Regions from separate parts of the Homo sapiens genome. Here region 1 is linked to region 2. Evidence: promoter capture Hi-C in human tissues and cell types (Jung and others, 2019). All regions are on one chromosome and are shown on one strand. Each heading gives the region's core, a stretch centred on a gene start or on the middle of the fragment in contact. The rest is flanking DNA. Distances are from core to core; before and after follow the strand shown.

The links. Contacts are between HindIII fragments. The study calls those that stand out against the background at their distance.
Region 1: a fragment that was not itself captured here is called in contact with the fragment with the promoter of TMEM74B in region 2 in 1 of the 25 tissues and cell types used here (heart left ventricle).

Annotation. Positions count from the first base shown.
Region 1 is chr20:1,216,226-1,222,225 of GRCh38, reverse strand. No RefSeq gene overlaps it. Among named protein-coding and RNA genes, the nearest start is that of RAD21L1, 6.8 kb to the left of the region's middle. The HindIII fragment of the contact is 6,646 bases long and covers 1-4,839 here.
Region 2 is chr20:1,182,173-1,187,796 of GRCh38, reverse strand. TMEM74B (transmembrane protein 74B) reads left to right here and starts at 2,816. Exons shown (of 3, transcript NM_001304748.2): 1 at 2,816-3,495; 2 at 3,849-4,026. The coding sequence starts at 3,996. The HindIII fragment of the contact is 7,340 bases long and covers 1-5,624 here.

The DNA.
Region 1 (6,000 bases), core at 267-2,766, 36 kb before region 2:
TATTGCCTAGGTTTTCTTCTAGGGTTTTTATGGTTTTAGGTCTAACATTTAAGTCTTTAATCCATCTTGAACTGATTTTTGTATAAAGTGTAAGGAAGGGATGCAGTTTCAGCTTTCTACATATGGCTAGCCAGTTTTCCCAGCACCATTTATTAAATAGGGAATCCTTTCCTCATTTCTTGTTTTTGTCAGGTTTGTCAAAGATGAGATGGTTGTAGATGTGTGGTATTATTTCTGAGGGCTCTGTTCTGTTCCATTGGTCTATATCTCTGTTTCGGTACCAGTACCATGCTGTTTTGGTTACTGTAGCCTTGTAGTATAGTTTGAAGTTAGGTAGCGTGACGCCTCCAGCTTTGTTCTTTTGGCTTAGGATTGTCTTGGCAATGTGGGCTCTTTTTTGGTTCCATGTGAACTTTAAAGTAGTTTTTTCCAATTCTGTGAAGAAAGTCAGGCTGGGCGCAGTGGCTCACACCTGTAATCCCAGCACTTTGGGAGGCCGAAGCAGGTGGATCACAAGGTCAGGAGATTGAGACCATCCTGGCTAACATGGTGAAACCCCGTCTTTATTAAAAATACAAAAAATTAGCCAGGCGTGGTGGCGGGCGCCTGTAGTCCCAGCTACTCGGGAGGCTGAGGCAGGAGAATGGTGTGAACCCAGGAGGCGGAGCTTGCAGTGAACTGAGATGGCGCCACTGCACTCCAGCCTGGGCAACAGAGCGAGACTCCATCAAAAAAAGAAAAAGAAAGAAAGAAGGAAGGAAGGAAGGAAAGAAAGAAAGAGAAAGAAAAAGAAAGAAAGAAAGAAGAAAGAAAGAAAGAAAGAAAGAAAGAAAGAAAGAAAGAAAGAAAGAAAGAAAGAGAAAGAAAGAAAAAGAAAGAAAGTCATTGGTAGCTTGATGGGGAAGGCATTGAATCTATAAATTACCTTGGGCAGTGTGGCCATTTTCACAATATTGATTCTTCCTATCCATAAGCATGGAATGTTTCATTTGTTTGTGTCCTCTTTTATTTTGCTGAGCAGTGGTTTGTAGTTCTCCTTGAAGAGGTCCTTCACATCCCTTGTAAGTTGGATTCCTAGGTATTTTATTCTCTTTGAAGCAATTGTGAATGGGAGCTCACTCATGATTTGGCTCTCTGTTTGTCTGTTATTGGTGTATAGGAATGTTTGTGATTTTCGCACGTTGATTTTGTATTCTGAGACTTTGCTGAAGTTGCTTATCAGCTTAAGGAGGTTTTGGGCTGAGATGATGGGGTTTTCTAAATATACAATCATGTCATCTGCAAACAGGGACAATTTGACTTCCTCTTTTCCTAATTGAATACCCTTTATTTCTTTCTCTTGCCTGATTGCCCTGGCGAGAACTTCCAACACTATGTTGAATAGGAGTGGTGAGAGAGGGCATCCCTGTCTTGTGCCAGTTTTCAAAGGGAATGCTTCCAGTTTTTGCCCATTCAGTATTATATTGGCTGTGGGTCTGTCATAAATAGTTCTTATTATTTTGAGATATGTCCCATCAATACCTAGTTTATTGAGAGTTTTTAGCATGAAGTGCTATTGAATTTTGTCAAAGGCCTTTTCTGCATCTATTGAGATAATCATGTGGTTTTTGTCTTTTGTTCTGTTTATATGATGGATTACATTTATTGATTTGCATATGTTGAACCAGCCTTGCATCTCCGGGATGAAGCCAACTTGATCATGGTGGATAAGCTTTTTGATGTGCTGCTGGATTCGGTTTGCCAATATTTTATTGAGGATTTTTGCATCGATGTTCATCAGGGATATTAGTCTAAAATTCTCTTTTTTTTGTTGTGTCTCTGCCAGGCTTTGGTATCAGGATGATGTTGACCTCATAAAATGAATTAGGGAGGATTCCCTCTTTTTCTATTGATTGGAATAGTTTCAGAAGGAATGGAACCAGCTCCTCTTTGTACCTCTGGTAGAATTCGGCTGTGAATCTGTCTGGTCCTGGACTTTTTTTGGTTGGTAGGCTATTAATTACTGCCTCAATTTCAGAACCTGTTATTGGTCTATTCAGGGATTCAACTTCTTCCTGGTTTAGTCTTGGGAGGGTGTATGTGTCCAGGAATTTATCCATTTCTTCTAGATTTTCTAGTTTATTTGCATAGAGGTGTTTATAGTATTCTCTGATGGTAGTTTGTATTTCTGTGGGAGTGGTGGTGATATCCCCTTTATCATTTTTAATTGCATCTATTTGATTCTTCTCTCTTTTCTTCTTTATTAGTCTTGCTAGCAGTCTATCAATTTTGTTGATCTTTTAAAAAAACCAGGATTCATTGGTTTTTTGAAGGGTTTTTAGTGTCTCTATCTCCTTCAGTTCTGCTCTGATCTTAGTTATTTCTTGACTTCTGCTAGCTTTTGAATGTGTTTGCTCTTGCTTCTCTAGTTCTTTTAATTGTGATGTTAGGGTGTCAATTTTAGATCTCTCCTGCGTTCTCTTGTGGGCATTTAGTGCTATACATTTCCCTCTACACACTGCTTTAAATGTGTCCCACAGATTCTGGTATGTTGTGTCTTTGTTCTCATTGGTTTCAAAGGACATCTTTATTTCTGCCTTCATTTTGTTATGTACCCAGTAGTCATTCAGGAGCAGGTTGTTCAGTTTCCATGTAGTTGAGCAGTTTTGAGTGAGTTTCTTAATCCTGAGTTCTAGTTTGATTGCCCTGTGGTCTGAGAGACAGTTCGTTATAATTTCTGTTCTTTTACATTTGCTGAGGAGTGCTTTACTTCCAACTATGTGGTCAATTTTGGAATAAGTGTGATGTGGTGCTGAGAAGAATGTATATTCTGTTGTTTTGGGGTGGAGAGTACTGTAGATGTCTATTAGGTCTGCTTGGTGTAGAGCTGAGTTCAATTCCTGGATGTCCTTATTAACTTTCTGTCTCGTTGATCTGTCTAACGTTGACAGTAGGGTGTTAAAGTCTCCCATTATTATTGTGTGGGAGTCTAAGTCTCTTTGTAGGTCTCTCAGGACTAGCTTTATGAATCTGGGTGCTCCTGTATTGGGTGCATATATATTTAGAATAGTTAGCTCTTCTTGTTGAATTGATCCCTTTACCATTATGTAATGGCCTTCTTTGTCTCTTTTGATCTTTGTTGGTTTAAAGTCTGTTTTATCAGAGACTAGGATTGCAGCCTCTGCTTTTTTTTGTTTTCCATTTGCTTGGTAGATCTTCCTCCATCCCTTTATTTTGAGCCTATGTGTGTCTCTGTACGTGAGATGGGTCTCCTGAATACAGCACACTGATGGGTCTTGACTCTTTATCTAATTTGCCAGTCTGCGTCTTTTAATTGGAGCATTTAGCCCATTTACATTTAAGGTTAATATTGTTATGTGTGAATTTGATCCTGTCATTATGATGTTAGCTGGTTATTTTGCTCATTAGTTCATGCAGTTTCTTCCTGGTGTCGATGGTCTTTACAATTTGTCATGTTTTTGCAGTGGCTGGTACCGGTTGTTCCTTTCCATGTTTAGTGCTTCCTTCAGGAGCTCTTGTAAGGCAGGCCTGGTGGTGACAAAATCTCTCAGCATTTGTTTGTCTGTGAAGTATTTTATTTCTCCATCACTTATGAAGCTTAGTTTGGCTGGATATGAAATTCTGGGTTGAAAATTGTTTTCTTTAAGAATGTTGAATATTGGCCTCCACTCTCTTCTGGCTTGTAGAGTTTCTGCTGAGAGATCCGCTGTTAGTCTGATGGGCTTCCCTTTGTGGGTAACCCGACCTTTCTCTCTGGCTGCCCTTAACATTTTTTCCTTCATTTCAACTTTGGTGAATCTGACAATTATGTGTCTTGGAGTTGCTCTTCTCGAGGAGTCTCTTTGTGGCGTTCTCTGTATTTCCTGAATTTGAATGTTGGCCTGCCTTGCTAGGTTGGGGAAGTTCTCCTGGATGATATCCTGAAGAGTGTTTTCCAACTTGGTTCCATTCTCTCCGTCACTTTCAGGTACACCAATCAGATGTAGATTTGGTCTTTTCACGTAGTCCCACATTTCTTGGAGGCTTTGTTCATTTCTTTTTACTCTTTTTTCTCTAAACTTCTCTTCTCGCTTCATTTCATTCATTTGATCTTCAATCACTGATACCCTTTCTTCCATTTGATCAAATCGGCTACTGAAGCTTGTGTATGTGTCACGTAGTTCTCATGCCACAGTTTTCAGCTCCATCAGTTCATTTAAGGACTTCTCTATACTGTTTATTGTAGTTAGCCATTCGTCTACTCTTTTTTCAAGGTTTTTAGCTTCCTTGCAATGGGTTTGAACATCCTCCTTTAGCTTGGAGAAGTTTCTTATTACCGATCATCTGCAGCCTTCTTCTCTTGACTCGTCAAAGTCATTCTCCATCCAGCTTTGTTCCATTGCTGGCGAGGAGCTGTGTTCTTTTGGAGGAGAAGAGGCGCTCTGATTTTTAGAATTTTCAGCTTTTCTGCTCTGGTTTCTCCCCATCTTTGTGGTTTTATCTACCTTTGGTCTTTAATGATGGTGACGTACAGGTGGGGTTTTGGTGTGCATGTCCTTTCTGTTTGTTAGTTTTCCTTCTAACAGTCAGGACCCTCAGCTGCAGGTCTGTTGGAGTTTGCTGGAGGTCCACTCCAGACCCTGTTTGCCTGGGTATCACCAGCGGAGGCTGCAGAACAGCAAATGTTGCTGCCTAATCCTTCCTCTGGAAGCTTCAGCTCAGAGGGGCACCCGGTCTTACGAGGTGTCAGTTGCCCCCATACTGGGGGGGTGCCTCCCAGTTAGGTTACTGGGCGGTCAGGGACTCACTTGAGGAGGCAGTCTGTCCGTTCTCAGATCTCAAACTCCGTGCTGGGAGAACCACTATTCTCTTTAAAGTTGTCAGACAAGGATGTTTAAGTCTGCAGAAGTTTCTGCTGCCTTTTGTTCAGCTGTGCCCTGCCCCTAGAGGTGGAGTCTACAGAGGCAGGCAGGCCTCCTTGAGCTGCAGTGGGCTCCACTCAGTTCAAGCTTCCTGGCCGCTTTGTTTACCTACTCAAGCCTCAGCAATGGCAGACGCCCCTCCCCCAGCCTCGCTGCCACCTTGCAGTTTGATCTCAGACTGTTGTGCTAGCAGTGAGCGAGGCTCCATGGGTGTGGGACCCTCAGAGCCAGCCGCGGGATATAATCTCCCAGTGTGCAGTTTGCTAAGGCCGTTGGAAAGGCGCAGTATTAGGGTGGGAGTGTCCCAATTTTCCAGGTGCTGTCTGTCACGGCTTCCTTTTGCTAGGAAAGGGAATTCTCCAACCCCTTGTGCTTCCCGAGTGAGGCAATGCCCCGCCCTGCTCCGTGGGCTGCACCCACTTGTCTGGCAAGCCCCAGTGAGATGAACCCAGTACCTCAGTTGGAAATGCAGAAGTCACCCATCTTCTGCATCGCTCACGCTGGGAGCTGCAGACTGGAGCTGTTCCTATTCAGCCATCTTGGCGCCACCATATTAGAAGGGTGAATCTTCTGAGTGATTGACAAGGTGAAGGAAGTCACGTGATTACAGGATAGGGGGCTCTGCCCTTCCCTTTTAGGTAGTCAAAGCAGAGAGAGAAGGCAGCATAAGTCAGCGTTTTCTTCTCTGCACTTATAAGAAAGATCAAAGACTTTAAGACTTTTACTATTTATTCTACTGCTATCTACTATGAACTTCAAAGAGGAACCAGGAGTGTGGGAGAAGCATGAAAGTGGACAAGGAGCGTGGCCATTGAAGCACAGCACCACAGGGAGGGGTTTAGGCCTCCGGATGACTGCGGGCCCGCCTGGATAATATCCAGCCTTCCACAAGAAGCAGGTGAAGCAGAGTGTTCCCTGACTCCTCCAAGGAAAGGAGACTCCCTTTCGCGGTCTGCTAAGTAACGGGTGCCTTCCCAGACACTGGCGTTACCGCTTGACCAAGGAGCCCTCAAGCGGCCCTTATGCGGGCATGACAGAAGGCTCACCTCTTGCCTTCTAGGTCACTTCTTACAATGTCCCTTCAGCACCTGACCCTATA
Region 2 (5,624 bases), core at 1,567-4,066:
ACCAGGTTCCTTATCAGGCCCTCCATGACAACCATACTGGTCTCCTGCAACTCTCAAACTCGTCACACACTTCCTTCTACCCCAAGGTCTTCGCCTATGCTAGGCGCTCTGCTGGACTTCTCTTTCCTCCCCTCTTTATCTGGTTGCCTTCTACTCATCCTTCTAATCTCAGCTCAGTCCACACTTTTACAGGAAGCCATTCCTATCCCCAAGACTAGGTTGGCACCCTTGTTTGAGGCTTGCACTCTATACTTTTATTTGGTAGCATTTACTATAACTGCAATGTTACATTTACTTATCCTTTTCTCCCACTAGAATACAAGCTTCCTGAGTGTAGGGATGGAGTCTACCTAGCTAACTAGTATATAATATTTGCCCATTTTCTCTGTTCTTTATTCAGTGAGCACTTATCCAGAGCTTCCTAGGTGTTAGCCCCTTTTCTAGTGTCTGGGGATACTGCAGGGAGGGAAACAGGCAAAAACCCTCTTCTTTTGGCACTTATTTTTTAGGGGAGGTGGCAATAAGCAAACAGAAACTAATGTCAGTTGGTAAGTGCTATAGAGAAAAATTCAGAGTGAGGGAGTAAAGAGTGCTGGGGCACTGCTATTTTTGAAAGGATGGCCTGGAATGGCGTCTCTGAGAAGGTGGCATTTGAGCAAAGACTTGAAGGAAGTGAGGGAAGGGGGTGAGTGCGGGAAATATCAGAAAGAAAAACGTCCCAGGCAGAAGGAACAGCCAGCGCAAAGGCTGAGGTAGGACAGCGCATGACTGAGGGAAGGAACAGTGAGTGCTTTAAAGGCGGTATCTCATCCCATTCCCATAACACTTCCTACATCCGTTTCACAGAGGAGGAAACCGAGCTCCAGGAGGGCAGTCCTTTACACCAGGGCACCCAGCTGTGGGGGTGGAGCTGGGATTTGAACAGGAGTGTGGTGCCAGGGCTAGCATCCCTTTGAAGTCTCTAACAACGGGCCAGGCCTCTGCAAGGCTGGGAGGAAATGGAGGCCTTCCCAGCCCTGGTGGACCTGCCTAGGGCTAGGCTATGCTGGCCTTGAAGGCACAGGCATCCATCATCCAGGGTGACTTCCAGTCTCCTGGTTGGGGAGGGCTGCACAGAACTTTGGAGGAGGGCAGGTCAGGCTCCGCTCATGAGGTGGCCGAGGAGCAGGACATGGCACACTCATTCGCCTGTCCTTCCACATGGCCAACTTCTGCTGGCCTTCCCAGAGCCCTCAAAGCCTGCACATTCACAATCCTCATGGACAGAAGTGGATACAGGCTCAGAGGCCAGAGGTACTAACCGAGACCACACGATTCAGCTGGTCACCGTGTCTTCCCGGAACCTGCACGATTCAGACCAAAGCTGTCTCTGGGGTTGGCGTGTGTTCCCCAAAGAGGAAACGTCTCCATGAATTTGGTACTCTAGGCACTTCGCTGGACTCATCTTAACTCCGGCCCTGTAAAGGAAAGAAGTGAAAGTCACCCCTTTTCACAGCCTGTTCACCCACACCCACCTAGGTCTTCTAGGTGATCAGACATGGGTCCTGCTCTCCAGGAGCTGCCAATCCGATGGAGGAGGCTGACCCTTAAACAAAATCACGACCGTCAGAGACAAGAGCAAACAGTGCGGGCAAAAGGAGAGCCCAGATGGAGGGGCCCGTGGGGTAAGTGGGTGTGTGCCCAGGGAGGGGTTCCAGGAGAAGAGGCCCCACAGCTGGGCCTTGGAGGGTGAGGGTGTGTTTGGCCATTGGCAATGCCCCCAGGAGAACACCCCTCTTGGGCGGAGCACTCCACTGTCCCACGGAGAAAAAAATTGCAGAGAAAAGGGGGAGGGGGATCGTCGGATTCTTTCTTGCAGCCTTCAGGTGGCGCCCTTGAGCCACGGAGCCGCAAGCGCCCGAGGAGACCGTCCCGACCTAAGGACCTCGGAGAGGACCCGGGGTCCTACCTGGGGGCTGCGTGCGGGGTGGGGGTGGGGGGAAGGGGAAGTGGCAGAGTGGGGGTGAGGAGTGGGGAGGCACCTGCGCTTGGCGCAATAGGGGCTCTCCGGTGGTGGGGAGGGATCTTCTTCAGCAGCCCCCGCCCGCCCCGCCCCTGCGCCCGTGGACCGCGGGCTCCAAGCCCCAGTTCCCTAAGCCCAGGCGCCGGCGATCCAGATCTGCCTGGAGGGGAGGGGAGGACGGTGGATCGGAGCCCCCGCACCCTCGCCCCAGCCCATCACCCGCCTTCCTGTCCCTCTCCTTGCTAACTCTCCGGGCGCCCTCGCCGGCCGCGGGCGGAGCTCCCTCCGCGGCGCTCGGCGAGCCCCGGCCCCCGCCCCTTCTCCCGTCCCTCCGTCCCCGGATCCCCCCCCCGCCTCCCCAGCGGCCGCCACCGCCGCCGTACAGCTCCGCGCGGCGCGAGTAGGTACGTGCGCCTCGGCAGTGGCTCCGGGCCGGGCCGGGAAGGGGGCGGGAGACCGGGAGGGCGAGGCGGTGGCGGCCGGGCCCGCGCCCTCCGGGCTGCGCCGCAGGAGAGAGACCCCCGCAGGCGAGACCCCCGCAGGCGTACGCCGGCTGCAGGAAGGCGGACGGGCACCGGAGAGGACGCACCCTCGCCCGCCGGCGGCCGGGCGCCCTTCGCCCCAGCGTGGTGAGGCGGGGAGGGAGGCCCGGCACAGGTACGCACGCGGAGAGGGGACCGCTGGGGGCGGCAGGAGGCCGAGGGCCGGGGGCGGGGAGTGGCGGCGAAGGACGGCGAGCCTGACCTCGCGGCCCGCCGAAGGACATGCGACCAGGGGACCCGGCCTCCCCGGGCCTCCGCCTGGTCCGGTTCGGCCTTCCGGGTCCCGCGTCTGTGGGCAAGGGCAGGAGCAGGGGGTGTGGACTGGGCCGGCGGGAGCGGGCGCGGTGGGCAGCCGGCGTGCTGGGGCTTTCTGCGCGCAACTTTGGGTACAACAGCGTGGACCTGCGTGTGCGTATCTGCGCGCCCCAAGGCTTTGTGTACAACTCGTGCGTGTGTCTATCGACTGGGTTTTGTGAAGCTTCACCCACAGCCGCTGTGCGTCCCTCTCTCCGGGTGTCAGTGCGCGCGGCGGGTGGGGTATTGGGCCCCTGCGGGTCTTGGTGGATCTGGCTTGGGTCTCACTCCCAGGGGCACTTTGTGTGTGTGTGTGTGTGTGTGTGTGTGTGTGTGTACGCGCGTGTGCGTGTGACGGGGTACTCGCGTGGCCCGAAGATCCGAGGGTCACACTACGTGACTTCTGGGTGTCTGTGGGTACTGCTGTGGGAACAGCTGCTGGGGGAGTGTGTGTGGAACTGGAGTGTTCCTTTCAGGACCTGTCTGACTGCAGATGAAATTAGTAACTGGTGGGGTCGTGGGGTGTGAATGGTGGGCGGGAGCAGCTATGTCAGTTGGTGTGTTTCTGCTTATGTTAGGGTAATTGGGCACGGCCTTTGTGTAACTGGTGAATATCTCTGAACCTGGGCATGAAACAGAGAGATGTCCTAACTCTGGGTGAGAGGAATCCTCATTTTTCTCTGCCCTCTCACTGTGGCATCCTAAGAAAAAAGTTTTGGGTTCCTGCAGCATGAAGGAGAGCTCTGCTCCCAGAATTTGGGAGCTCCAGATTTCTTCCAGGGTGTGGAGGCATCAATATATCAGTCTGGGAAAGGGGTTCCTGGGCCACTCCAGGAGCTGAGTTGGGTGGAAGGTGCTGAGGGTGTGGGTGGGGGCCACTTCTGAGCACCCATGTGGCACCCACTGCTGGTCCCTGTTTGTGGCTGGGCACTCAGGAAAATGTTTTTGGTGCTAAGAGTAAAAAGCCAACCAACAAACACATCTCTTTTTTCTGTCTATTCACTGGAAAGTAAAAGCAGTCTGGGCGCAGGCTGGGGACCCAGATGGAATTCAAACTTATGCCTGCTCTCAAGGTGCTCACGGTTGCTGATAAACAGCTGGATAAAATGAAGAGTCTATGAGTGAGGGATGCAGAGCCAGGGAAGGCTGGTGGAGTGATGCCACCAGCACAGGGGTATGAGTTTGCAGGTTTGTACATGATAATAATTCTTAGGGAATCTGCATTCAACTCCTGTCCTCCACCCTCCCATACATGCCATGGGATCTTGGCCATGTTTTATGAAATAGAGACAGTAATTCCGGATCGTGGGGCTGGTGAGGGTGATATGAGATACTCCTGCATGAAGTGTCGGGTACATGGCTCAACAGCTAGTAGGTGCTTGGTAAACATTTACTAAATTGAGACTCTGGAAAGAGAGACGTAGTGATAGAAATGGGCTGTAAAGGGAAAAGAGCTTTGTACTCACATGAAAGGCCCTATATGTGCTAAGAGGAGGTGTCTGATGCTAGTCCATATTGACAAGAAGGTCAGAAAGATTGAAAAACATGTCTTCCTGCACTGAGGCTCTTTGAGTTTCATTCATTCATTCATTCCATTCATCCTCACTTCATTTGCTCATATTTACACACACACACACACACAAACACACACACACACACACACACACAGAGAACGAACCACAGTGCACTGGAGAATAAACTCCGGCATGAGAATGCAGAGAATCGTGTGTGTGTGCATGTATGTGTGCGTAGACACACCGGAGCATGTGAGCCACTCTGCACCTGGTGGTCTCTGTAGCCCATGGCTTGTGCGCCTAGGGCTCTGAGTGTATGTGCCCTCAGGCCATCAGTGTATACAAGGAATGATGCAGTTCTGCTGTGGATTAGGAATGACACATGCCAGGCAGGGAAGGGGGCTGAGGTGGGACCTGTCGGGGAGAGGCTAGATCTGCCTAAGAGCCCCGATTGCCAACTCCAGGCGAGTGTTACAAGGGAACGGGGGCCTAAGGTGGCCAGATTCTTTCATTTTGCAGGAGAAGCCAGGAATCCAACATTTAAAATGTAAAATCTAAAATCTTTTGCTTTTTATACATTTGCAACTAATTCACCAAAAACAAATGAACAGGCCAGGAACAAAACAAAGCAAAACTTCTATCAGCCAAATATGGTCCCCGGGCTGTAAGTCAGTATCCTTCAGCGGGAATGCACATGTGCTGTCTGTGTCTGGGTGGGTTTGTGTTCAGGTTCTTGGGTGGGGTAACTCCTCTTGCAGCACAGAGAGTGTCCCTCTTCTCGCCTCTCCCTCCCGGTTCCCCTCCTGTGGTTCTAGTCCAGGTCCCCACACTTCTGTTTACATAAAGGCATTTGGCTTTGACCTAGTCATGGCTCTCCAGTCTGCCCCTTCCTCTTGGCCCTTTTAGCCATGCCATCCCCAACCTGCTGGCTTCCTTGCTGGACCCCCATCCTCCACTTTGCCCCCTCCCATCTCATCAGTCCTCCTTTCTTCTGAAGCCGAGGCACTTCCTGCTCCAGCTCCTCAGCTCTGCATGGCTCTCGGGCTCCTTGGCCTGGCTTTCAGAGTCCTCTGTGAGCCGGCCCCAGCTGGCCTCTGAGGCAGTCTGTTCCCCTTTCCAGAATGCCCTCATCACCTTCCATTGCTGGGAAGTATCCAATTCATCTTCTGAGATCTGGCTCAAATGCCACCAACTCCCAGAAACTTCCCTTCCTCTTTGTTCCCACAACAACTTCTGCATTTCTACCCCCTCCCCCACCCCTCCGTCATCCTT